Linked DNA regions of Homo sapiens: all the other regions are linked to region 4. Evidence: promoter capture Hi-C in 16 types of primary human blood cells and fetal thymus (Javierre and others, 2016). All regions are on one chromosome and are shown on one strand. Each heading gives the region's core, a stretch centred on a gene start or on the middle of the fragment in contact. The rest is flanking DNA. Distances are from core to core; before and after follow the strand shown. Region 1 holds the start of ATN1 (atrophin 1). Region 2 overlaps EMG1 (EMG1 N1-specific pseudouridine methyltransferase). Region 3 overlaps LPCAT3 (lysophosphatidylcholine acyltransferase 3). Region 4 holds the start of GAPDH (glyceraldehyde-3-phosphate dehydrogenase). Region 5 has its middle 16 kb from the start of VWF. Region 6 holds the start of LRRC23 (leucine rich repeat containing 23). Region 7 holds the start of C12orf57 (chromosome 12 open reading frame 57).

Region 1 (3,939 bases), core at 1,169-3,668, 390 kb before region 4:
AACATGAAAGGGTGCACACCGTGGGGAAACTCCCAACCACCAACAGATCCAGAAACAACCTCCAAAACCCAGCCCAGAGTCCCAAGGACAGCCACAGGCTGAGGTCCAATAAACATTCGAAGCCCCCCCAACCAATCTGACATCCCACTGGATCACTACCATAGCAACACAGTGGCAAAAGGTGCCCCTCAAGAGACCATCCCAGGTGTCCATCTGGCAGCTACCCCCTACCCCAGTTGCCAAAGCAACTCCTACCCTCCTATAGCACCTCAGGTAAGGGAGCTTGAAGGTACCTACCCTAGTCAAAATAAGCCCATGCACAAAGGGAGATCTTTGAGCTCAAAGCAGTAACTAAGGCCTCCCTATATAGATCACAGCTCCAGGGGCAGCGGACGCTCCGGAAATTGGAGGGTGGAGGGTGGAGGTCGCAACTTGCCTGGAGTGCCTGTAAGGTTGCTCAATTCTCCATTTCCATCCTCCCAGAACCCCTTTCTTCCCAACTCCCCCTTCTGTGTTCCTGTTTTCCTCCTCACTAGTTTTGGGATAACCCACACTACTGGGCCCCAGTGCCCTCTCCAAGAAATAACTATGTCTGGGATAGGGAAAACAGGGTCAGAGGTGACCTGCAGTAGGGGAATGAAAACCGTCACAAAGACATGGCCTTCCCTCTTCCACGCTGGAAAACCTCCGGCTCTTCTCAAAAATGGACCTCTCTTTGCCCAAGCCTCCGTCTCCCCCAGGTTCATCAGCCACAATCCCTCTTTCCACCTACCACACCCCTTTCCCGTTTCCCACTTCCCGTCTATTCCTAAAGCCCCCAACCCCAGGCTCCGGAACCCGTGTTCTGGTCCTTTGGAGCTTTTTCCTGGAGGCTTCATGCCCCACCTCGCTGCCATCTCTCCTATCCATTCTGCCTTCGCCCGGAACCCCACTCACAGCATCCCCCGTTTTCCTCCGCCAACCCCGGCCTCGATGTTCCTCCTCTTTTGAGTCTGCGGGTCCCGGATACCCTCTGGCCCCACAGGCCTCCTCCGGAGACCCTCCCTCCTTCCCCACCTTCCCGATCCTCCCGAAACCCTGGCCCCCGACTCTCCTCGGCGGGCCCCACCCCCTGAGCCCCCGGCCCTCAGGCCAGGCAGAGCCCGCAGTGGGGGGACGGGATTGGGAAAATAACAAATGGAGGCGGCGGCGGCAGGAGGGGGAACTGGGAGGGGTGGGGGTGGGGAGCCGCAGGCCGGAGCCCGGGCGGGACAGAACCCCGCGGGCCCGGGGCCCAGGCGGCCGCAGACCTTACCTGCTGGTAGCTCGGGACGGCTGGCTGGCTCCGAGCGGGATTCCGGGCTCCGGCGCCTCTGGGGGGCGGCGGCGGCAGCTCCCCCGCCCCCCTCTCCTCTTCTCGGCCTCAGTCGCCGCCGCGACGACGGCGGCGGCGGCCCCGACCCCCCCGGAGGGCGGCCCCCATCCCCCCTTTTCCCCGCCTGGCCCCAATCGCCCGCCGGCCCCCGGAGCAAACCCCGATCCCCGCTCTGCTCCCCACCTCCCCGGGCTCGCCGCCTCCCCCTGGCCGCCCGGAATGCCCCGGGCCGCGCCGCCCGCCCCCGCCGCGCCGCCCGGCCCCGCGGCCCGCCCGGCCCTCGGCGCGGTTCCGACCCGCCGCCGCCCGCGCCCGCCTAGCGCAGCCCGCACCCGCGCGATCCCGGGCCCCTCGGCCGCCTCGCCCGCGGCCCCCGCCCCTTCCCCGGCAGTCGGCTCCCTCTCCCCCCTCCTAGCCCCTCCCCGAAGCCGCGGTCCCTCCGAAATGGCCCGGCCCGAGGCCCCGACCCGGCGCGGGGCTGCGGACGGGCTGGGCGGTGCGTCCGGCGACTCGCACAGGAAAGCGGACGGCGAAGGGAGGGAGCCTGGGAGAGGGGGATGGGAGAAGGGAGGAAGAGGGAGAAGGAGGGAGCGCGGAGGAACGGAGGAGAGAGGGGCCAGGAGGGAGACGCGAGGGAGGGAGCGCGAGGCAAGCCGCGAGGGGGGAGAGAGGGGGAGCCGGAGAGGGGGAGGCGCAGCGCGAGTTGGCCGAGGCCGAGGCCGAGGGGGCCGGGGCGCGGGGAGGGCTAGCCGTGGCGGAATGTGGGGAGCCCGCGGGCCCGGCGCGGGAGAGGGCTAGGTAGGAGGGGCTGTGGGTGGTGAGGGCAGATGAGGGGAGGCTGAAGTTTGGGGGCGAGCGGGTCTGTGGCAGAGGTGAAGTGGGAGGAGTTTGGGGGATCCTGGGGTAGAGATTGGGATAATGGGATTGGATTGGAAAGATGGAGCTGCCTGGGGGCTTTGTGGGTGCCTGGTGAGAAGTGAGAGAAGCTTGGGGTGAGGGATCTGTGGCAGAGATGGAGCCAGACGGGTTTGGGGGCTATTATCAGAGAGAATGGGATGGAAGTTTGGGGTCATAAGGAGAGAGAAAAATTGAAAAGATGACATATATAGAAAGATGGGGCTTCTGGAAAAAGTAAAGCTTTTGGGGGTGATTAGTGTTGACAAAAGAGTCATAAATATAAGAATTGGGGGTGGGGGGATGAAGGAATGCTGGAGAGAGAGAAGTCCAGAGGAAACGTCAGTGAGGAGAGAGAGGAGGGAACGCGTGAGGAACCTTAAGAAGGGATGAACGAGGTGGGCCCAGGTGCCAATTCTAGGGAAAATAGGTTCTGGGTGAGAAAGGAGGGCTCTGGATGGGAAAGAAGGGTGGGAGACACCGGGCTGGCTGGATCCTGGGGGTGGGGGCTCCCAGTAGAGCCGAGGAGGGTTTACTTGGGCGGGCAGAATGGGGAAGAGGGGGATAAGAAGATTGGAAGGAAATGTAAGCTGAACAAGGCCTATGGCTGGCGGCAGTATGGAAGAGGAAAGATCATGGATGGGAAAAGAAAATGGAGATGGGGCCGGTGCGGGGGCTCACGCCTGTAATCTCAGCACTTTCGGAGGCTGAGTCGGGTGGGTCACTTGTCAGGAGTTCAAGACCAGCCTGGCCAACATGGCGAAACCCCGTCTCTACTAAAAATACAAAAATTAGCCGGGTGTGGTGGCGCATGCCTGTAATCCCAGCTACTCAGAGGCTGAGGCAGGAGAATCCTTGAACCTGGGAGGCAAAGGTTTCAGCAAGCAGAGATCGCGCCACTGCACTCCAGCCTGGGAGACAGAGCGAGACGCCGTCTCAAAAAAAAAAAGAAAAAATGGAGATGGGAAACGAGGGCAGTTAAAGGAAATGACAGATGTGGGAGCGGGGGGAGGTTGCTGGCAAGCTCATGGGTAGATAGGTAAGGGATACAGCTTGGAGGAGTGAGACACCATCCTCAGGCCTTCCATCTAGTGGCATCTCCATTTTCCTTCTCAAATCTGTTGAAAGTCATCACTAAAGATCCCCTGGGTCACAGGGAAGCAGTCGGGTGAAGACTGGGCTTAATGTGGACCCAAATCCCTGGGTATCCTTGTTGCTCAATCCCACTTGTTCTAAGGTGGAGACAGTCCCCACCACAGACTGCAGGCTCCTCCCAACCCTTCCTCTCCCTCCCCTGCTCTCCAGGTAGCCTCTGGCAGTCAGTCTGCTCCCGGCCGTGAAGCCAGCACCTCCGCCAGCCCACCACCAGTTCCTTCTCCTGGGCTCCCTCCTGGCCCTCCACCAAGCGGCAACATCTCCCAGGACAAAGGACACAGGGTGATTTTTGGCAGCAGAAATTGGGAAGGCCAGAGAATGGGAGGGAGGCAGGCTGGCAAGCCGGAAGAGCTGGAGCTGGAGTGTGGATTAGGAGCCCTCAGTAGAGCTCCAGATTTGGGGTGGGGGTCGGGTACTTGTGGGGCCAGTCTTGCTGGAGGCTAAGGGTGGGCCCTGAATTGGCAAGATCCCACCTGCCTTCAGGGAAGGAAGGAGGTTAGCTCTGGAGCAGCTCAGTAGATTTTTGTCTCACAATT
Region 2 (3,897 bases), core at 1-2,500, 440 kb before region 4:
ACAGTATTCATAGGATAAACAAATAGCAAATGTACAGCCTTGGCTTCCCCAAACTCCACAGTCTCAGTGCAGAAAGATCATCTTCCAGCAGTCAGCTCAGACCAGGGTCAAAGGATGTGACATCAACAGTTTCTGGTTTCAGAACAGGTTCTACTACTGTCAAATGACCCCCCATACTTCCTCAAAGGCTGTGGTAAGTTTTGCACAGGTGAGGGCAGCAGAAAGGGGGTAGTTACTGATGGACACCATCTTCTCTGTATACTCCACACTGACCTAAGAAAAGAACAGTTTTGTCAGCCAACTCTGTCACTCAGTAGCTGTTTCAGCCCTTCTTTAGGGCAGGAAAACTATGGCTGAGCTAGTATTTCAGCTGTGCTGTTGAATATCAAATCCCTACAAAGGATGAAGAAGGTCCTAACTGTGACTTCCAATTATGGCAGCAGCCCTCAAAGGATGTGCCCTGGGGCAGGGTGTGGAACTGTCATGTGTCTTCTAGCTCATTGTAAGCATTGTTAAAATGCCTACTGCTCTGGGAATTCTATACTAAGTTCAGCTCTACCAAGAATTTCAGGGTTGAGCCCAGACCTTACCTTGCCATGGGCAAAGGCCCCTACCACAAAAACAATAGGATCACTGCTGGGCACCAGCTCACGCACATCACTGACAACCGGGATGGAAAAAGAAGTGCCAACTTTCATACATCCAACTGGAAAGTGATCTGATACTGGATTCTTAATTACCTAAAGTAAAAAAGAGAGAAAAGTCAGCCCCAGAAACATTCCCAGAACCAGCCTTCAACTAACAGGTTTCAATACCTCACCTTCAAAAGCTTCTGGGGGCCATCAGCTGCTCGAACACTGAGCTTGTGTAAAAGTTGAACTAGAAGGGGGAAAAAAGAGTTCAGAGCTAGATGGAGACCACAGTCCTTCTGTCCAGTCATCGAACAAGGAAAACCCCATGGATAAGATGAGTTCCCTGTGTGCTTTATATCTAGACTGGACTCCTGAAATGTTAGGAACAAACAGTTGCCAAGCATATGGCTAGCTGTACAGTGATGGGTTCAGACTCCCTCTTTCACTCAGCCAGGAAGCTACTGCAAGAACAGGAGTGGAGTTTCCACAAACATAGAAAAATAATAACAGTCCTTGTCCTGGTATTAATCATGTTGTTCTCCCATTTTCTCGCTTAAAAATCCACATTTAGTTCTCCCTTTTCCTCTTCCTCCCTTCTTCCCTACTGACAAGTTCATTCTAACTTTGTTCTAAGGCTTCTTACCCATGAGGCCACAAAAGCGGTCAAAGGTTCTGGGAATTCGGGTCTGGGGATTCACTTCAATCAGAACATTCTTCTGTGTATGGATATAAACCTGTAGCAAGCCAGCTCGGTTCAGGGGACTATCCATCAGCATCAGCAAACTCTGAGCAAAGCAGAAACCGAGACATGGTTAAGGCTGAAGAGAGGCAGCACTCAGCTGCCAACCCTTCCATACAGAGGCTCAAAGGGTTGTGAGCACTGTCCCTGGAGTTACCTGGTGGGTGATATCTGGCCGCGCTTCCCCAGGGTCCCGTCCATTCTTCAACAATATAGACTTGTGCTTGTCACAGTTGAGTAGCTCATATGTCTTCCCTACCTGAAGAACAGGGAACATGACGAGAGAACAGCATAAGCTTCTGTTACCTAGCCCCGTGGTTCTTCAAGTGTGGTCCCCAAACTACCAGCAGCAGCTGCACCTGGAAACTTGTTAGGCAAATTCTCAGGCCCACCCTAGACCTACTAAACCAGGAACACTGGGGGTGGAGCCCAGCAAGCCCTTCGGGGGATTACTGTGCAGCCTTATTTGCACTCCCCAGTGAATGGTCTGAGAGGGAAACAGGAGGAAGGGCACAACCTGTGACTTCACATTATCTACTAATACACTGGATTTAATTAAAAAACCTGTGGCTGTTAGGCAAGGCCAATGAGACATCCTGGAACTAGGCAGGAGTTAGTAGTTAGCAAGGCTGAATGCTGTGTTTATTACAGGAGCAGTAAGTAGGTACTGTGCAAAATATCGAGTCACCACCCTCAGTTTGCGTACACCAAACATGCACTAAGTGAAGAGCTGCAAATCTGAACAAGAAATGTGAAGGCCGGGCGTGGTGGCTCACGCCTGTAATCCCAGCACTTTGGGAGGCCGAGGCGGGCAGATCACAAGGTCAGGAGATTGAGACCATCGTGGCTAACACGGTGAAACCCCATCTCTACTAAAAATATAAAAAATTAGCCGGGCATGGTGGCAGGCGCCTGTAGTCCCAGCTACTTGGGAGGCAGAGGCAGGAGAATGGCATGAACCCAGGAGGCGGAGCTTGCAGCGCCACTGCACTCCAGCCCGGGCAACAGAGCGAGACTCCATCTCAAAAAAAAGAAATGTGAAAACTAATGATGCAGGAGGCAGTTTAATCAAAGAAAACTCTCAGAAGTAAAAGGAAGAGGGGTTATTCCCAGTTTTAAGACGGGCATGGGGGCAGATGCAGTGGCTCACGGCTGTAATCCCAGCACTCTGGGAGGCCAAGGCAGGCAAATCACTTAAGGTCAGGAGTTCAAGACCAGCCTGGGCAACATGGCGAAACCCCATCTCTACTAAAAATACAAAAATTAGCTGGGCATGGTGGCACATGCCTGTAGTCCTAGCTACTTGGGAGGCTAAGGTGGGAGGATGGCTTGAGCCCAGGAGACAGAGATTGCAGTGAGCCAAGACTGTACCACTGCACTCCAGCAAGACCCTGTCTCAAAAAAAAGAAAAAAGAAAGACTGGCATGAGCAAAGGTACAGATGGAATCAAGACAAAGTAGCCAGGTGTGGTGGCTTATGCCTGTGATCCCAACACTTTAGGAGGCCGAGGTGGAAGGATCACTTGAGCCCAGGAATTTGAGACCGGCCTGGGCAACACGGTGGGACCCTGTCTCACAAAAAAAAAAAAAAAAATTAGCCAGGCGCAGTGCCATTTGCTGGCAGTCCCAGTTACTCAGGAGGATGAGGTGGGAGGACTGCTTGAGCCAGGGAAGTAGAGGCTGCAGTGAACCATCACACCACTGCACTCTGTTGCCCAGGCAACAGAGCAAGACCCTATCTCAAAAAAGAAACAAAAAAGAAAAAGTGGAAACGAAGAAAGGAAATTTTGAGGAAAATTGGGAGCTGAGACACTAAAGGGCAGTGATTATATATGAAGCTGCTTTGTAAACCACAGAATCCTAATGTATCAAGCACAAAGCCAAAAATAATTCTGGAGTAAGCAGGGCAGGATGGGAATGACTGACAGACACTATCCTAACAACTCTCTGTACACTGGAAAAGACATCAGAAGTTTGATGTTAAAGAAGTGGACTACATCTGTAGCAGCTAAAAGAAATAATTCCAAGTTGCAATTTGGAGTCCCAAGGAGCATTAGGGTGGTCAGTAAAAAGTCTAAAAACAAACTGTTATATACAAATACAAGTTTTGGAAGGTTAAGTTTTTATGTATCACTGGAATGTATATGTCTAGCAACATTCTTGAGATATATGGCTCCAAAAAGTCTGCGAAAAAAGGGATGTAGATTTTGAAATTGAATAGTTGAAGTAATGTCACAGAGAGCACAAAGAACAAATGACCAAGAACTAAGTCCATGAGACACCCTTAGTTATAGAAGAAAAAAACCTTCTTGAATGAATAATACAGTTTCAACCCATTAGTAGGATATAATCATGTTTTCTATTCTTTTAATAGATTACAGGCGCAGGCCTGTAATCCCAGCTACTCTGGAGGCTGAGGCAGGAGAATCGATTGAACCCGGGAGGCGGAGGCTGCAGTGAGCCAAGATCGTGCCACTGCACTCCAGCCTGGTAGAGACTGAGACTCCATCTCAAAAAAAAAAAAAAA
Region 3 (3,756 bases), core at 267-2,766, 480 kb before region 4:
ACATGCCTGTAATCCTGGCATTTTGGGAGGCCAAGGTGGGCAGATCGCTTGAGGTCAGGAGTTTGAGACCAGCCTGGCCAACATGGTGAAACCCCATCTCTCCTAAAAGTATAAAAATTAGCTGGGCATGGTGGTGGGCACCTGTAATCCCAGCTACTTGGGAGGCTGAGGCAGGAGAATCACTTGAACCCTGGAGGTGAAGGTTGTAGTGAGCCAAGTTAGCTCTACTGCACTCCAGCCTGGGTGACAGAGCAAGACTCTGTCTCCAAAAAAAAAAAAAAAATTAATAAAAAAATGAGCTGGGCGTGGTGGCTCATGCCATGCCTGTGGTCCCAGCTACTCCCGAGATTGAGGTGGGAGGATCACTTGGGCCTGGAAGTTTGAGGCTACAGTGAGCCGTGGCACCACTGCACTCCAGCCTGAAGGATAGAGCAAGACCCTGTCTCAAAAAAAAAAAAAAATTGTATTACATTCATTAGTTAGGAAACTGTTGGTTTCTCAACAATAAATTCAGAATGTAACACAAGTAGCAACCAGTTATAAGGGGCAATCTGTTAAATGGAGTTAGGGCTGGAATTAGGACTTGGAATTCAACTTTTGTTTGTTGACATAAAGAATTCAACTTTTGTTTGTTGACATAATCACATATTGCCTGTGCACTCCTGCTGGGCTATTGCTGTGTACTGTCACGGGGCATACAGATGACTAGGAAATTGTTTTCTCCATATCCCACTCCTCTTCTCTCATCTTCTCTCATTACCACCAATCATCAAAGTAATAAACACTTGGTGTAATGCATCTACCACACTCCCGAGCCCCCTTGCTCATTCTACCATTTCCCACACCCTGCCTTCCTATCTCACATACCCTGTTGCCTTCAGTAATTCATAGTATTTCTCATTTTTAGATCAACTTGGGGCTTCAACTTGCCTCCTATCAGGTATAGCTCATCATGTGGACGGGTAGGATTGTATTCCTAGTAGGCACAGTTTAAATACATACATATAAATATAAATTGATTAAGCTTGATGTGTGCGTGGTAGGAGTGCATTTTGGTTGTAAATATGTTTCCCTTACAAAGGTTATTACCATTTCTGTGTATTGTAACCTAGAAACCAGTAGCCTTTCAGCAGTGGAGTTCCTGGTTCTTGAACCCAGCTCTCTCAGGGAACTGGGATACTGGAGGAAATCCTTGCTGGAGGTACCAAGAAAGCCTGTAGTCCAAAATGATTTCTGGTTCACTTTCCACTGATTAGATTAATTCAGGTTAAAAACACCTCCCTAAATGCAAATACCCCAAGGGAAGAGTTAGGTATATCATTCACATTTTCAAGTGTACGTTTTAATCAGATAGTCTAATTACTATTTTCTTAACATCTTACTTTTTTTACTTCAGTTCTGTGTGCTGATCTTGGGGTGGAATGCAGAGCATTAAAGCACTGGCTTTTAAACCTTTTTGACTAAGATCCATCGTAAGAAATATGTTTTACATTGTGACCCAGAACACACAGACTTGTATGTGTATACACGTATTTGAAACAAGTTTCAGGAAAGAATACTTGCCCTTAATAATAACTCACTAAGTTGATTTCATGACTTGTTAATGAGTTACAACAGTTTGAAAAATCTTGAGTTAGAGGCTGCAATTTTTTTTTTTTTTTTTTTTTTGAGACGGAGTCTCGCTCTGTCACCCACACTGGAGTGCAGTGGCTCGATGTCGGCTCATTGCAACCTCCGCCTCCCAGGTTCAAGCAGTTCTCCTCCTCAGCCTCCTGAGTAGCTAGGACTATGGTGCACGCCATCATACCCGGCTAATTTTTGTGTTTTTAGTAGAGACGGGGTTTCACCATGTTGGCTAGGATGGTCTCAATCTACTGACGTCGTGATCCACCTGCCTCGGCCTCCCAAAGTGCTGGAATTACAGGCGTGAAATTACAGGCATGAGCCACCGCGCCCAGCCGAGGCTGCAATTTTTAATATTCAATACTTCAAAGAAAAAGTAAGCTTATGTGGACTGCTGCACTGGAGTATTTTGAGCAGTCAGAAGACTGTAAAAGGAGTGTGTTTATGTTTGTGTGGTGTATGCTTGCAAGGAGTTTGATGGAAGGATGCTGAAGAGGAATTTTGCCATGAGCCCTGGTGCTGGCAAATACTACCAGAAAACATCTCCCCTTCAACAGCTTGGATCTCATCACTCCTTAATGTAACTAATACCATGAATTGCTCATATAAATTCAGTAACATGCACCTACTACAGGTAAAGCAGTATTCTTAACCCTGCAAGGGCAGGAGCAGTGGGTGTAGTATGAGTCAGGAGCCCTGCACTCAAAGGTATTATGGTCTGTTAGGGTATAGGAAATGGGCCTGAGATAAGTATACTAATAACCCCAATAAATTTTAAGCACCATAAGAGAGGTACAGAGCTTTGTGAGATTTAAAGATGGGACATTTCATTTAAAGATGAGTAAGGTTTCAGCATGCTGAGATGGTAAGACTTAAGGAATAGCATGAGCAGAGGCACTGAGGTGTGAATGTGGCAACACAGCCAAGGAACAGTCAGTAGTCTAGTGTGACTAAAACAGGACTTTAAAGAAGTGATGGAAAATCAGGCTGGAACTGTAGGTTAAAGAGCCTTTAAAGCCAAGGTAAAGAGTTAGTACTCACGTAGGTGATAGGGAACATTGGAGATTTTTGAGTGGGGAATAATATGGCTGGAGCTGTATTTAAAAAGATAATACAGCCTGGGGTGATTTGAAGTCAGCATAGACAAGTAGTAGGGAAACTAAGGAGAAAGAAGTGATCTAGAGAGGAAGTTATAATGACTTGGAGGCAGGGTGGCTGTGCTGAGAGGAGAAAGTGGGCATCTCCTGTGAGATGGTCTAGGAATACCGGAACCTTTTGAAAGGTAGATTCTGTAGACACAGTCATCTACACAGCTGCTCATGCCTGAAACCCAAGAATCAGCTTTGTTGCCTTTCTTCACTCACTCCCCACATCCCAGTCACCCAATCCTATCAATACAACCTCTGGATTGTGTCTCAGATCCATCTACTATTCTCCATCACCACAGCCACTAACCATCTGTCACCAGCACCACCCAAGTAGCCTCCTGACTAGTCTCTAATTCTGTTCTTGCCCCCTCAGTCCACTCTCCAAAAGCAGCCAGAGTGATCCGATCCTGTGCCTCTCCTGCTCAGAACCCTTCAGGGGCTTCCATACCTGGCTGGTAAGCCCCTGCCTGCTGCCCCAGCCTCGTCCCAAGCAAGCTGACAACCTTTTAGCCACATGGCCTTTGTTCAGTTCCTCAGGAAAGGCATGAAGGCTTCCCTACCTCAGAGCCTTTGCACACGCTTACCTGCTGCCTGGAGTGCCCTTCAGTCACCTGACAAACTCCTTTTCATCTTCCTCTGAGTTCTTTCCTGACTCTCATGTTCAATTATGTCCCCTGTTACACTTTCTCATACTGACCGGAATTTCCTTCCAAGTATATATTACACTTTGTAATTATATATTTGTAGATGAGGACAGAAACCATGGAAGTTTTGTTTACCACAGTGTACCCAGAGTTTAACACATTACTTGGCTTGTAGAAAAGGCTCGATAAATACTTGAATAGGTGAATGTATGAATGAATGACTTGGCAACTTATTAGCTGGAGGATAAAGTCGTAATTTTAAAAAGACTCCATCCTCCTGCCTGAGTAGCTGGAAAGATAAGGGTATCTTTGACCAATGCCAGAGATCAAGTGGAGGATCA
Region 4 (3,944 bases), core at 954-3,453:
TTTGCCATGGGTGGAATCATATTGGAACATGTAAACCTGGGGGAATACGTGAGGGTATGAAGGGGCTGCCCATCAGCCAGGTGGCTCCTCCCACACCAGCTTTGGGGCTCACCATGTAGCACTCACCATGTAGTTGAGGTCAATGAAGGGGTCATTGATGGCAACAATATCCACTTTACCAGAGTTAAAAGCAGCCCTGGTGACCAGGCGCCCAATACGACCAAATCTAAGAGACAAGAGGCAAGAAGGCATGAGGAGGGGAGGCTCCTCCAGAATATGTGAGCAGCCCTAGGCCACCTCCCCATTAAGAGGGCGAATGCAGCATCTCCTTACCCCCAGGAGGGCCCAAGAGGTTGAATTTTATCTCCCTTGAGCTTCCCTGCCAGGCTGGCCTGGCTTAAGGCATGGCTGCAACTGAAGGCTCCAGGGCTGCCCAACACCCCCAGTCATACGAAGCCCTTCCAGGAGAAGCGGCCATGTGGGGCACTGCCACCCACAGTCTGGGCACAAGCTTTGTACATGGTATTCACCACCCCACTATGCCACCCCAGGAATGCTTGCTGCTGCCTAGCTCAGCTGCACCCTTTAGGGAGAAAACGCTTGTACACTCAGCATCATCAAACTCAAAGGGCAGGAGTAAAGGTCAGAAATTAACTGGACAGGGCAAGCCCACCCCTTCTCTAAGTCCCTCCTACAAAAGGGACAGAGACTGGGGCGGGTGGGAAGAGGGGAAGCTGTATTTTAACCCCCTAGTCCCAGGGCTTTGATTTGCCAAGTTGCCTGTCCTTCCTAGCTCTTTTCCAGAAATCAGGAGTGGGAGCACAGGTAAGTGCATGTGTGTGGGGAGAAGGGATGGGAGAGAGCCCCAGCCCAGGCCCCCAGCTACAGAAAGGTCAGCAGCTATATTTAACCTCAGACCAGGGTGCGGTGGGAGATCTGGTTTCCGGAAGACGGAATGGGGAGAAGGGCAGGTTCCCCGAGGCGCCCAGACACCCAATCCTCCCGGTGACATTTACAGCCTGGCCTTTGGGGTCGGGTCAACGCTAGGCTGGCAGGGGAAGGGCGGGGCCGTGAGGTGAGCCGGCGCTGCAGGAAGGGGCCACCACCAGAGGGGCCATTTTGCGGTGGAAATGTCCTTTTCCAACTACCCATGACTCAGCTTCTCCCGGCTTGGCACCATGCCACAGCCACCACACCTCTGCGGGGAGGGGACACAAGAGGACCTCCATAAACCCACTTCTTTGATTTACCAGAGAATAATCTAGGAAAAGCATCACCCGGAGGAGAAATCGGGCCAGCTAGCCTCGCTCCACCTGACTTCCCCGCCACACGCGACTCCACCCATCGAGGCAGGAGCGCAGGGTTAGTCACCGGCAGGCTTTCCTAACGGCTGCCCATTCATTTCCTTCCCGGTTGCAACATGGCGGCCGCTCTACCGCAGGCGCAGCATCCGGACAGGGATGCACCCGCTGCGCACTAGCATCCCGGGGCCTGCGGTGCCGGAGGCCGTGGGGGAGGGGCTCCTCTGCGACACGTGACCCCGCAGAGCGCGAAAGGAAAGAAAGCGTCCCCCACCTAGGGGTCCGGGTCGGGATCTCGGGCGGGAGTAGGGACCTCCTGTTTCTGGGGACTAGGGGAAGGAGGCTCCGGGCAGATGGCGCCGCAAGGGCGGAGCTGCACAGGGCGCCACAGCCTGGGTGCGGGGCTCCGCCAGGTCCGAGCGCTGACCTTGAGCTCTCCTTGCGGGGAACAGCTACCCTGCCCCCATACGACTGCAAAGACCCGGAGCCCGCAAGGCTCGTAGACGCGGTTCGGGGGCGGTCGCAGCCCAGGGCCCCCCAGCCACCCGCGAACTCACCCGTTGACTCCGACCTTCACCTTCCCCATGGTGTCTGAGCGATGTGGCTCGGCTGCGCGGAGGGAGAGAACAGTGAGCGCCTAGTGGCCCCGGCCGACACACACGCCTCCCCTCCCCTCCCCCACCAGGCCTCCATGCCCAGCCCGCGCCGCATCACGTCCTCCGCCCGCCCCTGCAATGCGGAGGCCGCCCGGGCCCACCCCGCAGCGGCGCGAACACATCCGGCCTGCGCCCGCCCCTGCCGCCTTCAGGCCGTCCCTAGCCTCCCGGGTTTCTCTCCGCCCGTCTTCACCTGGCGACGCAAAAGAAGATGCGGCTGACTGTCGAACAGGAGGAGCAGAGAGCGAAGCGGGAGGCTGCGGGCTCAATTTATAGAAACCGGGGGCGCGGCGGCAGGCGGTGACTCGGACCCCGCCTCCCGCCAGGCTCAGCCAGTCCCAGCCCAAGGTCTTGAGGCCTGAGCTACGTGCGCCCGTAAAACCGCTAGTAGCCGGGCCCTACTTTCTCCCCGCTTTTTTTTTTCCGCAGCCGCCTGGTTCAACTGGGCACGCACCGAGCGTGTGGGCCCCGACGTAGGGGGGAAGGGACTGAGATTGGCCCGATGGGAGGTGATCGGTGCTGGTTCCCAGGACTGGACTGTGGGCAGCAGGACACTAGGGAGTCAAGGACGGGGACCCTTACACGCTTGGATGAAACAGGAGGACTTTGGGAACGACTGAGATGGGGAATTGGAGCCGGAGCCCAGCACCGCTCGCGGCTGCACGCGGCCTGCCCCCTCCCCTTTCTTTCTTTCAAAGGCTGAGAGGCGGGAAAGTTGGGGAACTTCTCCTCGAGGCTCTGCGGTAGTGACACCGGACTGCTCAGGCAAAGGCCTAGGAGGGGCCCATGGGCCTCGGGCGGGGGCCCGTGGTTCCTTCCCAGCCCCCACTTCCCCCTCCCCATCTCCTGGCTCCTGGCATCTCTGGGACCGAGGCCTGGGCTGGGCACTGGGCACTGGGCACTGGGGGCCTGGAGAGGAAGGAGGCTCGGGAGGCGGCTTGAGGGGGAGGGGGAGGTTTCTGCACGGAAGGTCACGATGTCCTGCAGCCCTGTAGCCTGGACCTGATAATTAGGGCAGACAATCCCGGCCCTGTGTGCACCAGCGGCTCTCTCCGGGCTGGGGCCCCAGGCGGAGGACAGGATGGCTGGTGGGGGCCCAGAGGCCTCCCACAAAGGCACTCCTGGAAACCTGTGGGCTGTGCTGCCTAGGGAGAGAGACAGTGTGCCTTTCATTCCATCCAGCCTGGGGCGAAGAGCGGGACGTGAGGGCGGAAGTCCCTCCCCGCCCTGGGACGTGCAGGCGAGCCAGGAGCCAGGGACTCCCTTTCACTGGCTGCGCCGGGGGATATTGAGGGCAGGGTGAGTCAAGAAGAGGGAAAAAGTGGGAAAAGAGGTCTTGGGCACACGGTGGGAACAGGTCCCCTGCCCCCTCCCACAGGGGATCCATTCTTCTGGTAGGAGGGCAGAGGGCCAGGTTTGTGAGTGTGGGATGGGAGGGTGCTGAACACTTGTAAGGAAGGGGGTGGGGTGGGGTGGCCTTGGCCCATCAGCAGGTGCATGGGAGGGGGATCCCGGGCCTCTTTGCTGGCCCAGCATAACCTGACACCAGCCCCCTGCCCTTCTAGCTAAAAGCCGGTTGCTAAGTTTAGCCTGCCTGGTGATAATCTTTGCTTAAAAAGCACCCACAGGACTCCAGTCCCTGACCCTGCCTTTCTGGGATTGCCTTTCCTGCTGGGACCCAGAGCCAGGCTGTGTCCTCGTCTGGCTGCCACTGGCATGGTTGGTGCGGGCTTTTCACAATGACCACCCAGAGCAGAGTAGCAAGAGCAAGGCAAGAAGGTCCCTAATGGTGAAAGGGGTGGGGTGGGGGAGTGGAGGAAGCCCCACCTCTGACTCAGCTATTCCTGCAACCAGGACCGTTAACCCTTTCTCATTGAGAGCATTAAGAGCACCTCCATGCTCCTGCACCACCCAAGCGTGATCTTCCCCTCTGCCTCATGCTTGTCATTTTTCATTACTGTCTTCTCCCCGCAAAGAGGGAGCTCAG
Region 5 (3,923 bases), core at 1,201-3,700, 390 kb after region 4:
ACTCTCCACGTCCCCACCAGACTCAGGAGCCCAGCTGGCTTCACCTAGTGGATCCCGCACCTGGGGCTGCAGGTGGAGCTGCCTGCCAGTCCCGCGCTGTGCGCTCTCATTCCTCAGCTCTTGGGTGGTCGATGGGACTGGGCGCCGTGGAGCAGGGGGTGGTGCTCGTCGGGGAGGCTTGGGCCACACGGGAGCCCATGGAGTGGGTGGGAGGCTCAGGCATGGCAGGCTGCAGGTCCCGAGCCCTGCCCCGCGGGAAGGCAGCTAAGGCCCGGCGAGAAATCGAGCGCAGCGCCGGTGGGCCAGCACTGCTGGGGGACCCAGTACACCCTCCACAGCTGCTGGCCCGGGTGCTAAGTCCCTCATTGCCCGGGGCCAGCAGGGCTGGCCGGCTGCTCTGAGTGTGGGGCCCGCCAAGCCCACGCCCACCCGGAACTCCAGCTGACTCGCAAGCGCGGCACGCAGCCCTGCTTCCTGCTCGCGCCTCTCCCTCCACACCTCCCTGCAAGCTGAGGGAGCGGGCTCCAGCCTTGGCCAGCCCAGAAAGTGGCTCCCACAGTGCAGTGGGGGGCTGAAGGGCTCCTCAAATGCCGCCAAAGTGGGAGCCCAGGCAGGGGAGGTGCTGAGAGCAAGCAAGGGCTCTGAGGACTGCCAGCACGCTGTCACCTCTCAATACCTTAACTTGCAAGTAATTGAAAGTGGGTATATGTATGACTGTTGACCTGCCCCTGAGCTGGTGCTCTCAACACATTGCCTAGGGGTTAGCCCTGCTCTGCAGGAGTAGTCATAAAGTTGTCACACTGCTGCCTCCATAAAGCTGTTTTCTTCTACCACCAGCTGGCTCTTGAATTCTTTCCTGAGCAAAGCCAAGAATCTTCCAGGGCTAAGTCCCAATTTGGGAGCTTACTTGCCCTGCATCAGTGCAATCATAGCTCACTGCAGCCTGGAACTTCGGGGCTCAAGCAATCCTCCTGCCTGAGCCTCCTGAATAGCTAAGATGACAGATGTGTGCCACTACACCTGGCTAATTTTTTCTTTTTTTTGTAGACATGAGGTCTCACTTTGTTGCCTAGGCTGATCATTGTTTTTAAAATTTCTATCTTTACTGATTTTTATCTGCCTGACCTATGGATAATTGAGAAAGCCTTTTTGAAGTCAATTGTCAATTTATGTATTTTGAAGCTATTTTGTAAGATGCATATAAATTTGAGTTGCTGTAACTTTCTGCCTCTCAAATTAGAACCCCAGGTCTTGAGATAGTGATTCTGGGGTCAGGAATCCTGCTGTGCTACTACTGGGGCCAGGAATGCCACCAGATGTAATGGTCTGAGTTCTCTGTAGCTCGATAGCAGCAATAATGTGGTGTCATTGTTCCTGAGAACCAGGGAAGATGAGTCTGAAGCTGCACCATTCTTCTGACATTGTAGCGTGGGTGGGTCCTCTCTATTTTGATGATTGTGAAGGAAGTGAGCATGTTATTCTTGCACAAGATGTTTGTCTTTAGAAGAGAGGAAGTAGAGGAGGACAGCTTCCTCTCCGCTGGGGGCTACAGCTTTATGCTGGGAGCTGGTCGTCTGGCCTAAGAAATACTGCTGTGTTTATTTATTTGGCGCATACTGCCAAGAAAATTCTCTTTCCTGCAGAATTTACGTAAGAGAGATGCTACAAATATACAAAGAAAAGACAAAGATGGGTCCTCCTAGAAAACCTTTCCTCCCCTGAGGTTCTTTTGCTTTTGTACTAGTTACCTGGAGAACTTACTCCTCAGACAGGCAGAGGTCAATTTACCCATCCCCCTGCCTCTGAGCAGCCCTGCCCCATGCGCCCCCAGAGGTCACGCACCCTTCCCATTTGTACTTAATGCTGTTTACATCAGCCCAAGTTCTAATGGCTCTCATACTGTGGTCCTCAGGGATCCTTCTTCCTTGAGCCTCACAGCACTAATTGTCCTCTAACTTATTTGGCAAAGCTGCCTTGGGACACCCTCCATGAGGGCAAGGGAGCAGGTTGTGTGGCATGATATCTTGGCCTATATTAGTTTTCTATTGCTGCAGTGACAAATGACCACAAGCTTAGTGGCCTGAAACAACACAAATTTATCTTACAATTCGTAATTGTAAGAAGCTCGAATTGGATCAAAATCAAGGTGTGTTGGAAGAGCTGGATTCCTTCTGTAGGTTCTATGGGAGAACCTGTTCTTCGCCTCTATCCACTTCCAGGGGCACACATTCCTTGCCTCGTGGCCCCGCGTTGCATGACCTCTGCTCGCATCATCACATCTCCTTCCCTGATGCTGACCCTCCTGCTCCTCTTATAAAAACTCTTGTGATTATATCGGCCCAGCAGGATACTCTGGGGTAAGCCAGGATCATCTCCCCATCTCAAGACCCTTAACTTGCTCACATCTGCAAAATCCCTTTTGCCATGTAAGGTAGCATTCAGAGGTTTGAGATGGGATGTAGACATCTTTGGCTGTTCTTCTGCTACCGTAATGTGTTACGTGGTTGGCTGTATCTGCTCTTCTCTTGTCAAACCCATGGTCTCCTCCAGGCCCTCGTCTTCCCTGTCCGGGAAGGTTCCACCAACCACTAATGGATCTCCCTTTCTCCATCTGACCTCTCACAATACATGCCACTGCTGCCAGAGGGCCTCATCTGGTGTCACAGGATGAACATAAACCCCTACACTGGTTGAAGGTCCCTGAGGACTTGCCTCTTATTCCTCTCTTTGGTCTCTTTTCCTGTGAGTCTCCTTTATAGGCTGTAACAACTGGCTTATTCACCTACTTACTGATTTAGCATCTCAGAGCTTGCCTGCTTCTAAGCTTTTACTTCCTTCCTTGCAGCTGATGTGCCTTTGCCCTCATTTTCACCTGGCAAAATCCTACTCAGCAAATGGGTAATTAAACCATTGCAACCATTATAAACCATTGCAATTTTTCAGGGGGGCCATTTGGCCTTATTGTCAAAGGCCTCACTGAAAATGTGGACGGTGGCTGACCCAGTGCTCCACATGTAGGATTTCATCCTGTGGGAGTAATCCTGAGGGTTGTGCATGGATATAGCTTCAAAGATGTTCACTGCAGCATTGTTAATTAAAAAAAAAAAAAAGTAGGCCGGGAGTGGTGGCTCACGCCTGTAATCCCAGCACTTTGGGAGGCAGAGGCGGGCGGATCACGAGGTCAGGAGATTGAGGCCATCCTGGTTAACGCGGTGAAACCCTGTCTCTACTAAAAATACAAAAAATTAGCCGGGTGTAGTGGCGGGTGCCTGTAGTCCCAGCTACTCGGGAGGCTGAGGCAGGAGAATGGCATGAACCCAGGAGGTGGAGCTTGCAGTGAGCCGAGATTGCGCCACTGCACTCCAGCCTGGGTGACAGAGCGAGACTGCATCTCAAAAAAAAAAAAAAAAAAAAAAAAGTAGCACTAACCTAAATAAATATCCCATAATATGGAACTGGTTACATAAATTGTGGAATATCAGTAAGTGAACTATTCCAGCCAAGTGTGTTATACTCTGATAAAACAGACACTTGAGTGTTATTTAGAAATAGTGCCAGAGTGTCATATGAGTTACAGGCGCAGAATACCACATGGGAACGTGACCCCAGTCTGATGTCCCTGCCCCCTTGCAGAGCCATCCTGTGACTTTCACCGTGCAATTTCCCCAACCACAGTGACGAGTGCTATCTTCTGTGCTGATGATTTGGAGAGCAGGCAACAACTTCCTTGGGTATTAAGCAATTTTTTTTATCTGCAGTTTCAGTTCTGTAGCTACATTTTAATATTATATGCTAATTAACCCACATCATTGTTCTACTAGCAGGGAGTTCAACAGACATTTATGGAGCACTTACCATGTGCTATGCTCCAGACAGAGCACTTTGGAAGATACAGAGATGAGTAAGGCAAGGTCTTGTTCTAA
Region 6 (3,603 bases), core at 1-2,500, 370 kb before region 4:
TTTCCACTAGGCATGAGAAGAGTCAAACTCTCAACCAGAACACCCAGGAATGACAGTGGGAAAGGAGATAGGGGCCCTACAGTCTCACAGTCCTCATCTGGTCCCCCCAAAACGCACCTCTCTTTAACCTCCAGCTTGACATAAGCATGAGCCAGCCCATTGCCTGTCTTACAGAGCAGAGAAAGCCCTTCCTTCATCATGTCCTCCGTGAGGGGGGTGGGCAGCCACTGCAGGTAGAAGTGGAGTAAGGTGTCTCTCCCCTGCCCAACCCCCTCCTTCAGCCCTAGGACCCCTCCTTGTCCAGGCTCTCACTTCCTCAGGGAACTCTTCCCCCTCTTTTCTGTAGTCCTCCCCCTCCTCTGTCTCCTTCTCGTCCTCTTCTTTCTCAGAATCATCCTGGTCTGGCTCAGAGTCTTCTAGATCATCTTCATCTGACATCTTTCTTCCCTCCTGAAAGCTCTGGAGTCAGATAAGCTCAGTCCTCCTCCTGAAAAAGAAGGTCTCATCAGCTTCTGCCAGCCTTCAGCTCCTTCATCGTCATTGACACGTGCCACTCCCATCACCCCCATGACTTCTGACCCACCAACTCTAGGCTTCTTTCCTTATCCCTGTGAACATCTCATTTTGATTCTCAACTCCCACTTCACACTTTCCACTGAGGACCCCCTCCCTTCAGGATGTCACCCACACCCCCAGGCCTTTCCTGTCCTTCACAGTGACTCCAGCTCTCCTCCAGCAGCCGGGTGTCCCTATTTCCTGGGCTTCCCTCTCCCCCATTCTTCCCACCTCCCCCTTAAGCCATGCTCTCCAATCTTCCCTACCAATTCCTCCTCCTCTCCTCTCAGCTCCCATTGCGCCATCCGTAATCCCTGCTCCATTCATTTCTTCTACTTTTCCCTCCCCACTGGGCCAATTTCCTTGGGCCCTCTGGTACACCAGCCTAAAGCGCAGTCTCCAACCCTCCCACTCAATTCGCCTTAGCAAAGGGGCTCAGACCCTGTTTCTGCTCAATCAGAAGCAGTTCTGGAGAGGCCCTTGGTCCCGAGAGGGAAGGACTGTTTAGCAAGCGGGCGAGGGGAAGGAGGGGTTGTGTACTGCTGTTATGGCAACGGGGACGGGGCACTTGGCAACTGCAGCTCGCCACCGTTGAGAGTAGAGCGGCGACTACCTGATGCGCAAATCAGCCGGGGAGGGGATTGATCAGTAGTTGCCTGGTTACCACGCCACTTTCCCGTCCCGGGAACCCGGATGAGGCGCGGAAGGGGCGTTGGGCCGCTAATTGGCTGAGGACAAAAAGAAGTGGGCAGGGCTGAGAAGCGAGAAGAGAGGGGGCGGGGCTAGTCATTACGTCACCCAAGACCTTAAAGGGACCGGACATCTTCAATGCAAAAGTATTGTGAATTCAGGAAAAACTCGTCCTTCGAAGCAAAAAGGGCGGGGCTGCGAGGAAAAGCAAGAAACACCAAGATAAGGGGTCTTTTCCCCTTCCCCCTATAGTTTCTGCTCATTAGTTATTTTCAGGTAGACCTTTGGAAGGTGGCTTGGTGGAGCGGAAGGAGTCCAGACCCAGATACCTTAAGAACTGGGTTGGAGTCTTGGCAGATCTGCATTTGCTAGCTAAACGTACCCAAGACTCTTTGTTATCTGTAGAATTAGCTTAACTATATCAACTGACAGGGATCCAGTATGAGTTATCCTGGACTGGTTTGATGCAAACCTTTTAGTGGGTGGAAGGCAGAAAATTCAACATCTGCCCACTAAAATACTCCTGATCCAACGTTGTTATATCAGTAATCAACAGGAACTGGCATAGCCAAACCCAGGCACTCAGGCCTGTCTGACATGTTGAAGGAGATGAAAAAGATGTTGAGATGCAATAAATATTTCTGGAGAGTTTGTGCGAGACATTATGTCAAACATCTTTACAACTGATATTTAATCTCTGCAACAGTCCTGTAAGATAGACATTTGAAAGAAGAGGATACTGAGGCTCAGGGAGGTTAAGATGACACAATTCCTGCCTGGGGAAAGGGGGATGTTACCAATCTTGTTGTGGAATCTAATGTAAATGAAACAATGAGGTAACCAGGTAAGATGGCATGTGATTCATTGTTAAATTGTGCCCACAGACTTTATATAACGGCAAAGTGGTCTGGTGGAAGATGTGGTGGGCAAGAAATCAGGAAGTATTATATTACCTCCTGCCCAGGGCAGCTTGGAGGAATGTGGTTAATAGGCAAATCTGTTTACTTGGTGTCATGGAACCAGTAGGGACTTTAAAGTCAGAGACACCAGCTTCAAAACCCATCTCTACTACTTAATACCTGTGTGTCCTTCAGCAGGTTATGAAATCTTACTGAGGTCTAATTTCCACAGTCGTGAAATGGGGATTATTAAAACGTCCACCTGTAAGGATTGTTAAGGGATTAAAAGAGATAATGTGGGTAAATCGCCTTGCACTTAGTTGACCCTTAGTAAACATTTTCCTGCTCCTCCCCACCCCTGGCCTGTGTCCTTGGTACTGGGGTTGCTGTGAGGAAAAAGAAATAATAAATATGAACACTCTGAAGAGTGAGATGTGCTATACAAATGAAAGTTATTGTATTGTTGGAGTGTGGAGAAGGGAAAAATCCATGTGGTTTGATGTAGTCAAAAGAAATGGATATGAGTTTCCTTGGCCAAGAAGAAAGAGGAAGACACATTAGATGGGAAGAAAAGTTGTGATGTAAGGGTTAGGAAGGTGTCCTTGAACATACACTTTTGTTATTTTGTTTTTATTTTTGTTTTGAAATAGAGTTTCCCTCTGTCGCCCAGGATGGAGTGCGGTGGAGCAATCATAGCTCACTGCAACGTCCACCTCCTGGGCTCAAGCAGTCCTTCCGTCTCAGCCTCCTGGGTACCTGGGACTACAGGTGTGCGCCACCATGCCAAGTTAATTTTTTTGTATTTTTTGTAGAGACAAGGTTTTGCTATGTTGCCCAGGCTAGTCTCAAACTCCTGGGCTCAAGCAATCCGCCCGCCTCGGCCTTCCAAAGTGCTGGGATTATAGGCATGAGCCACTGCGCCCTGCCATGCTTTTGTTAAGCACTTAATCTGTCCCTGTGCTCCGGGACAGTAAAGCACAGAAGTCCTTATCTTTTATCTTCAAGAGGTGTACAGTTCAGTGACAAGATTAAGTACACAAGTAATTCAATATAATGAGACATGTTATAATAATCATACCCAACATTTATAGAGCTTTTACTAAGTGCTAGGGATCATTGTATAGTATATGCATATACATGATATCATATATTCGGGGCAGAGATTTCAGAGGCAGGAATCACCTGTGGTAATGCTTGGAGAAGAAAGAGCTCAATGCCTGTGCAAAGAAAGCAGGTGGTTCTGCTGGCTGGAACAGTAGGTGCAGTCGGGGGTTGGAATATGGTAGAAGCAGTAAACAGACTTGGATCACACTGAAGGATCTGGACTTTATCCTGAAAGCTGTGGGGAGCTATTGAAGGTTTTATTTCGTGTTTAGTTGGCAAGGACTGAAGTTACACTGTGTAATGAGAGCTAGATACTCCACAACATCCTTGATATTTTTCCCCCATCGGCTGGTCT
Region 7 (3,639 bases), core at 201-2,700, 410 kb before region 4:
GTCTGTAGCTGGAACTCAGGAAGGCTATGAGGCAGCAGAGCTGAATCAGTCAACACCTTTGGGGAACACCAGGATCTCACCAAAAATTTAACCACCAACCCCCCCCAAACAAAAATTAGCTGAAACACCCTGGAGAGACTGCAGCCACTGCTGTCATGCAGACATGTCACTAAAAGGTGGCACAACAGCATTTAAGTCCAGCTCTGCTACTCGAGAGTCTGCACCATTAGAGTTTGCTTCCTCATCACAAAATGGAATAATAATGTGATTAACAGTACAGGTTGACCATCCTTAATTAGAAAATCCAAAATCTGAAATTATGAGTGCCAGTGTGAGGCCGAAAATGGAAAATTCCACACCTGACTTCATAGTGGGGGGTGGGGGAGACTGTAGTCAAAACGCAGTCAAAACTTTGTCTCATGCACAAAATTATTCAGACTATTATATAAAATTACCCTCAGGCTATGTGCATAAGGTGCGTGTATATGAAACAAAACAATTTCGTGTTCAGATTTAGGTCCCATCCCCCAAGATATCCATGTATATGTAAATATTCCGAAATCTGAAAAAACCCGAAACACTTCCGGTCCCAACCATTTCGGGTAAGGGATACAGAACCTCTACTGTACAAAACGCAACTCGGACGCACAAGCTCAGGGTAGACCCTGGGCTCTGAGTGCCAAGAATGTTAGTCAGATTGTGGCTGCCGCCGTGTGGCGAGAAAGGGGACAACCGCTCATGGGCCCACAGATCCGGCGCCCTCTCCCGACCCAACTCCCGCCTTCCCGCGTCTGACCCGCCTTCCCGCGTCTGACCCACCTTCCCCGTCGCAGCTGAAGCCATAGGCTTTGATAACCTCCTGCTGGATCTGCGTGGCCACGGGCAGCACGAATTGCAGCATCTTACCCATGTCGTTGCAGGCGTTATCCCGAGCCTCGTCCATGCGCACTGCATTCTCCGGGGCGGAGAACGCCTGGATCACCTCCGCGAGGACCACTGCGCGCCAGAAGCATCCCAGGGAGGCGTCCCGGGTAGGCGTCGGAGAACAGACAGCGGGCCCAGCGGAGAGCGCAAGGAATTAGTGGATTGAGGCTGTAGGTAACCCAATAAGATCCCAAGTCTTGGGGGCAAGCGCCCCACTTAGAAGGACGGTACCCGGCGTCCCCTACCCCATTTTCCCGGCGGACGTAGCCAGGTTTGTCGCCCCACATCCTCCGCCCGCATCCTCCCCAGACCAGCAGCCCATGCCTTGACTACCCCAGGCCAGCAGCCTATGCCTTGACTAGGACGATTCTCACCCTTTGCTTGCTCAGCGCTCAAGGCCGCCGGTTGGGTCGAGGCGGACGCCATAGGGCGTCTGAAGCTCTAGGTTCAGCGGAGGTAAATGGAAAACTCACGAATAAAGAGCCACGTCCTACAACCGTTCCCAACGCCCCTGGGAGCGGAAAGGAAACAGCATCCGGCGCAGCCGGAAGCGCCCAGGCGTGGCCCAAACCTTCATACCCCAAGCTTACAACTGCATCAAGACCACCAAAACTACCCATAATTTTTGCACAGTGAAAACAATCTATCATTGGCAACAAACATCATAAGAGGGGCTTTCCGGTAAAAAGCCAGAAAGCCTACTAGACAAATTCTAAAAGAGCTGTAACACTGCTGCGTATGTGTTTGGAGAGAAGATGGGATATAAAGGAACTCCACAATTGATGAGGGTGAGCTTAGGTGACTTTTTTCTTGTTCCTATTACTGTATAAACAACGACGCATGTGGTAACTTTCAGTAGGAAAAATAATATTCTAAGGAACTTACTTAAGTCATTCATTTCTAGAGTTCGCGAACATTTGTTCTCAGCCCATGCAAATGAGTTCGGTGCTGATTGGTTGAGAAAGCAGCCAGTCACAGCCCCTTCGTTGTTGTTAAGCCCGGAGACCTGGATTCGGCAGTAAAGGCCCAGAGCAAAAGCCGTTGTCGCAGTTTCCTAAAGGCCTTGTCTATTGATGAGCGATGGAGCCTAATGCCCGGCCCGATTTCCCTTCCCTTCCAGGCTTTTATCACCCACTCCCTTCTCAAACTGTAGGTGGTTAAGGATGCCAGGTACTAATCGCCTGGACCTATTAAAACTAGCCCACCCCACCCCCGCTTCATAACCGGCTTTGTTTTTTGTTTTTGAGACGGAGTCTTGCTCTGTCGCCAAGCTGGAGTGCAGCTGGGGGGGATCTTGGCTCACCATAACCTCCACCTCCCGGGTTCAAGCGATTCTCCTGCCTCAACCTCCCAAGTCGCTGGGACGACAGGCGCGCGCCACCATGCCCAGCTAATGTTTTGTTTTTAGTAGAGACAGGGTTTTGCCATGTTGGCCAAGCTGGTCTGGAACTCCTGACCTCGTGATCCGCCCGCCTCGGCCTCCCAAAGTCCTGGGATTACCAGCGTGAGCCGTCGCGCCTGGCCTCATAACCGTTTCTTAAAGTATTCCACGGAAAGGTTTCAGGACTCTGAAGCCCTTGTTCCGGAGGACTCTGGTGGCTCCTAGCAGTGAGACCCGTCTGAATAGATTCCTAGAACTGACCACGTCAGAGGTGGGCCTGTCCCAGGCCTCTAGTGTTTGGTTGGTTGGGGTGTCTTTTGTTTGTTTGTTTTGAGATAGGGCCTTGCTCTGTCACCCAGGCTAGAGTGCAGTGGTGCGATCATGACTCACTGTAGCCTCGACCCCCAAGTGATCCTCCCACCTCAGCCTCCTGAGTAGCTGGGACCACAAGTGCACCACAACCCCCAGCTGATTTTGTCTTAAGATGGGGTTTCTCTATGTTGCCCAAGCTGGTTTCCAACTCCTGGGCTCAAGCAATCCACCCGCGTCTCACAGGCATAAGCCACAGAGCCCAGACCGAGGCCTCCACTGGCGCGCAGCGGTCCTGCCCAGCCTTGGGGCAGGAGGGGGCACCAGCACCCATGGTACCGCCTCCAGCTGAGTCAAGGCTCTGGGCTCTTCAGGGATCCCCTCTCCAATTCTTCCCAGCCCCCACACCCCGTTCCTTAAGAAGGTCTGGTCTCTTCCCGCTTCCCTGCCAGGCCCTGGCTGCAGTTCTCTCTAAGCACCGCTGCACTGAGACCCAGCCTCACCCCCATATCCCGCAAAGAATAGTCACAGCCATGTTCCTGGGGAGTTGTGAGGATGTTTTTGTTTGGTTGGTTTTGGTTGGGATGTTTTTTTAAGAGCGTCATATAGATATTTATATATATAAATTATTAGTGTGGGGAAGGGGCAAGGGGCATACATTGCAGAGGGGGCGCGCACACAGGGATCGGGGAGGGGCAGGGGTGGCACACGATGCTACGCAAAACAGCCACATCTAACAGATGAAATAATCACACCAACGGGGCAGGGGAGGGGCGGCGGCCACAGGGGTTGGGCATGGGGGAGGAGAAAAGCAGGGGGGACAAGGAAGAGAGACCTGGTCCAAGATTCTGTGCGCTTTCTGTCCCCATCCTCGCCACCTCCCCACCTCTGCACACCACATCGGGCCTTGGCCTTCTGTCTGTCCCTCCCTCCCCCACTCTCTGTCCAGCTGCGGAGGCCCTGCAACTGAGCAGCACCCTCTTGGCTCTGGGTGGCAGGCCAAGGGCACGGTGGGGGGAGGGTGG

Evidence for each region. Contacts are between HindIII fragments. The CHiCAGO score rates a contact against its expected background, and 5 or more counts as called.
Region 1: a fragment that was not itself captured here is called in contact with the fragment with the promoter of GAPDH in region 4 in 7 of 17 cell types (activated CD4 T cells, non-activated CD4 T cells, naive CD8 T cells and 4 more); the score reaches 12.1 in activated CD4 T cells.
Region 2: a contact is called between a fragment that was not itself captured here and the fragment with the promoter of GAPDH in region 4, in 5 of 17 cell types (non-activated CD4 T cells, activated CD4 T cells, naive CD8 T cells and 2 more). The highest score is 10.4, in non-activated CD4 T cells.
Region 3: a contact is called between a fragment that was not itself captured here and the fragment with the promoter of GAPDH in region 4, in 3 of 17 cell types (activated CD4 T cells, naive CD8 T cells and naive CD4 T cells). The highest score is 6.7, in activated CD4 T cells.
Region 5: a fragment that was not itself captured here is called in contact with the fragment with the promoter of GAPDH in region 4 in 3 of 17 cell types (non-activated CD4 T cells, naive CD4 T cells and naive CD8 T cells); the score reaches 10.1 in non-activated CD4 T cells.
Region 6: a contact is called between the fragment with the promoter of LRRC23 here and the fragment with the promoter of GAPDH in region 4, in 9 of 17 cell types (non-activated CD4 T cells, total B cells, activated CD4 T cells and 6 more). The highest score is 10.0, in non-activated CD4 T cells.
Region 7: the fragment with the promoter of C12orf57 here is called in contact with the fragment with the promoter of GAPDH in region 4 in 2 of 17 cell types (activated CD4 T cells and non-activated CD4 T cells); the score reaches 8.2 in activated CD4 T cells.

What each region holds. Positions count from the first base shown.
Region 1 is chr12:6,925,740-6,929,678 of GRCh38, reverse strand. ATN1 (atrophin 1) reads right to left here and starts at 1,720. Exons shown (of 10, transcript NM_001940.4): 1 at 1,295-1,720. It overlaps LOC124902868 (a long non-coding RNA gene), which reads left to right and starts at 1,983. Exons shown (of 2, transcript XR_007063194.1): 1 at 1,983-2,152; 2 at 3,554-3,939. RefSeq lists silencers at 1,722-1,881, 2,062-2,111 and an enhancer at 3,136-3,835. The HindIII fragment of the contact is 151 bases long and covers 2,343-2,493 here.
Region 2 is chr12:6,972,072-6,975,968 of GRCh38, reverse strand. EMG1 (EMG1 N1-specific pseudouridine methyltransferase) reads right to left here. Exons shown (of 6, transcript NM_006331.8): 2 at 1,529-1,630; 3 at 1,276-1,417; 4 at 821-879; 5 at 591-740; 6 at 1-273. The coding sequence ends at 160. Among named protein-coding and RNA genes, the nearest start is that of EMG1, 3.1 kb to the right of the region's middle. The HindIII fragment of the contact is 838 bases long and covers 832-1,669 here.
Region 3 is chr12:7,012,805-7,016,560 of GRCh38, reverse strand. The region is part of intron 1 of LPCAT3 (lysophosphatidylcholine acyltransferase 3); the gene reads left to right. Among named protein-coding and RNA genes, the nearest start is that of LPCAT3, 3.8 kb to the left of the region's middle. The HindIII fragment of the contact is 980 bases long and covers 1,027-2,006 here.
Region 4 is chr12:6,532,776-6,536,719 of GRCh38, reverse strand. GAPDH (glyceraldehyde-3-phosphate dehydrogenase) reads right to left here and starts at 2,203. Exons shown (of 9, transcript NM_002046.7): 1 at 2,151-2,203; 2 at 1,859-1,910; 3 at 127-226; 4 at 1-36. The coding sequence starts at 1,887. It overlaps GAPDH-DT (GAPDH divergent transcript), which reads left to right and starts at 2,313. Exons shown (of 2, transcript XR_002957397.2): 1 at 2,313-3,256; 2 at 3,577-3,944. RefSeq lists enhancers at 1-101, 1,650-2,423, 2,424-3,197, 3,198-3,944, 3,932-3,944 and silencers at 1,912-2,051, 2,772-3,021. The HindIII fragment of the contact is 4,237 bases long and covers 514-3,944 here.
Region 5 is chr12:6,138,763-6,142,685 of GRCh38, reverse strand. No RefSeq gene overlaps it. Among named protein-coding and RNA genes, the nearest start is that of VWF, 16 kb to the right of the region's middle. RefSeq lists an enhancer at 1-339. The HindIII fragment of the contact is 753 bases long and covers 2,074-2,826 here.
Region 6 is chr12:6,902,469-6,906,071 of GRCh38, reverse strand. LRRC23 (leucine rich repeat containing 23) reads right to left here and starts at 1,250. Exons shown (of 8, transcript NM_001135217.2): 1 at 997-1,250; 2 at 313-487; 3 at 118-227. The coding sequence starts at 438. The HindIII fragment of the contact is 20,869 bases long and covers 1-3,603 here.
Region 7 is chr12:6,941,833-6,945,471 of GRCh38, reverse strand. C12orf57 (chromosome 12 open reading frame 57) reads right to left here and starts at 1,450. Exons shown (of 3, transcript NM_138425.4): 1 at 1,299-1,450; 2 at 820-996. The coding sequence starts at 1,350. It overlaps RNU7-1 (RNA, U7 small nuclear 1), which reads right to left and starts at 1,656; the gene lies at 1,594-1,656. ATN1 (atrophin 1) reads right to left here. Exons shown (of 10, transcript NM_001940.4): 10 at 3,151-3,639. RefSeq lists enhancers at 1-233, 794-943, 483-1,062, 954-1,073, 1,374-1,563 and 1 more and a silencer at 901-1,160. The HindIII fragment of the contact is 10,579 bases long and covers 1-1,511 here.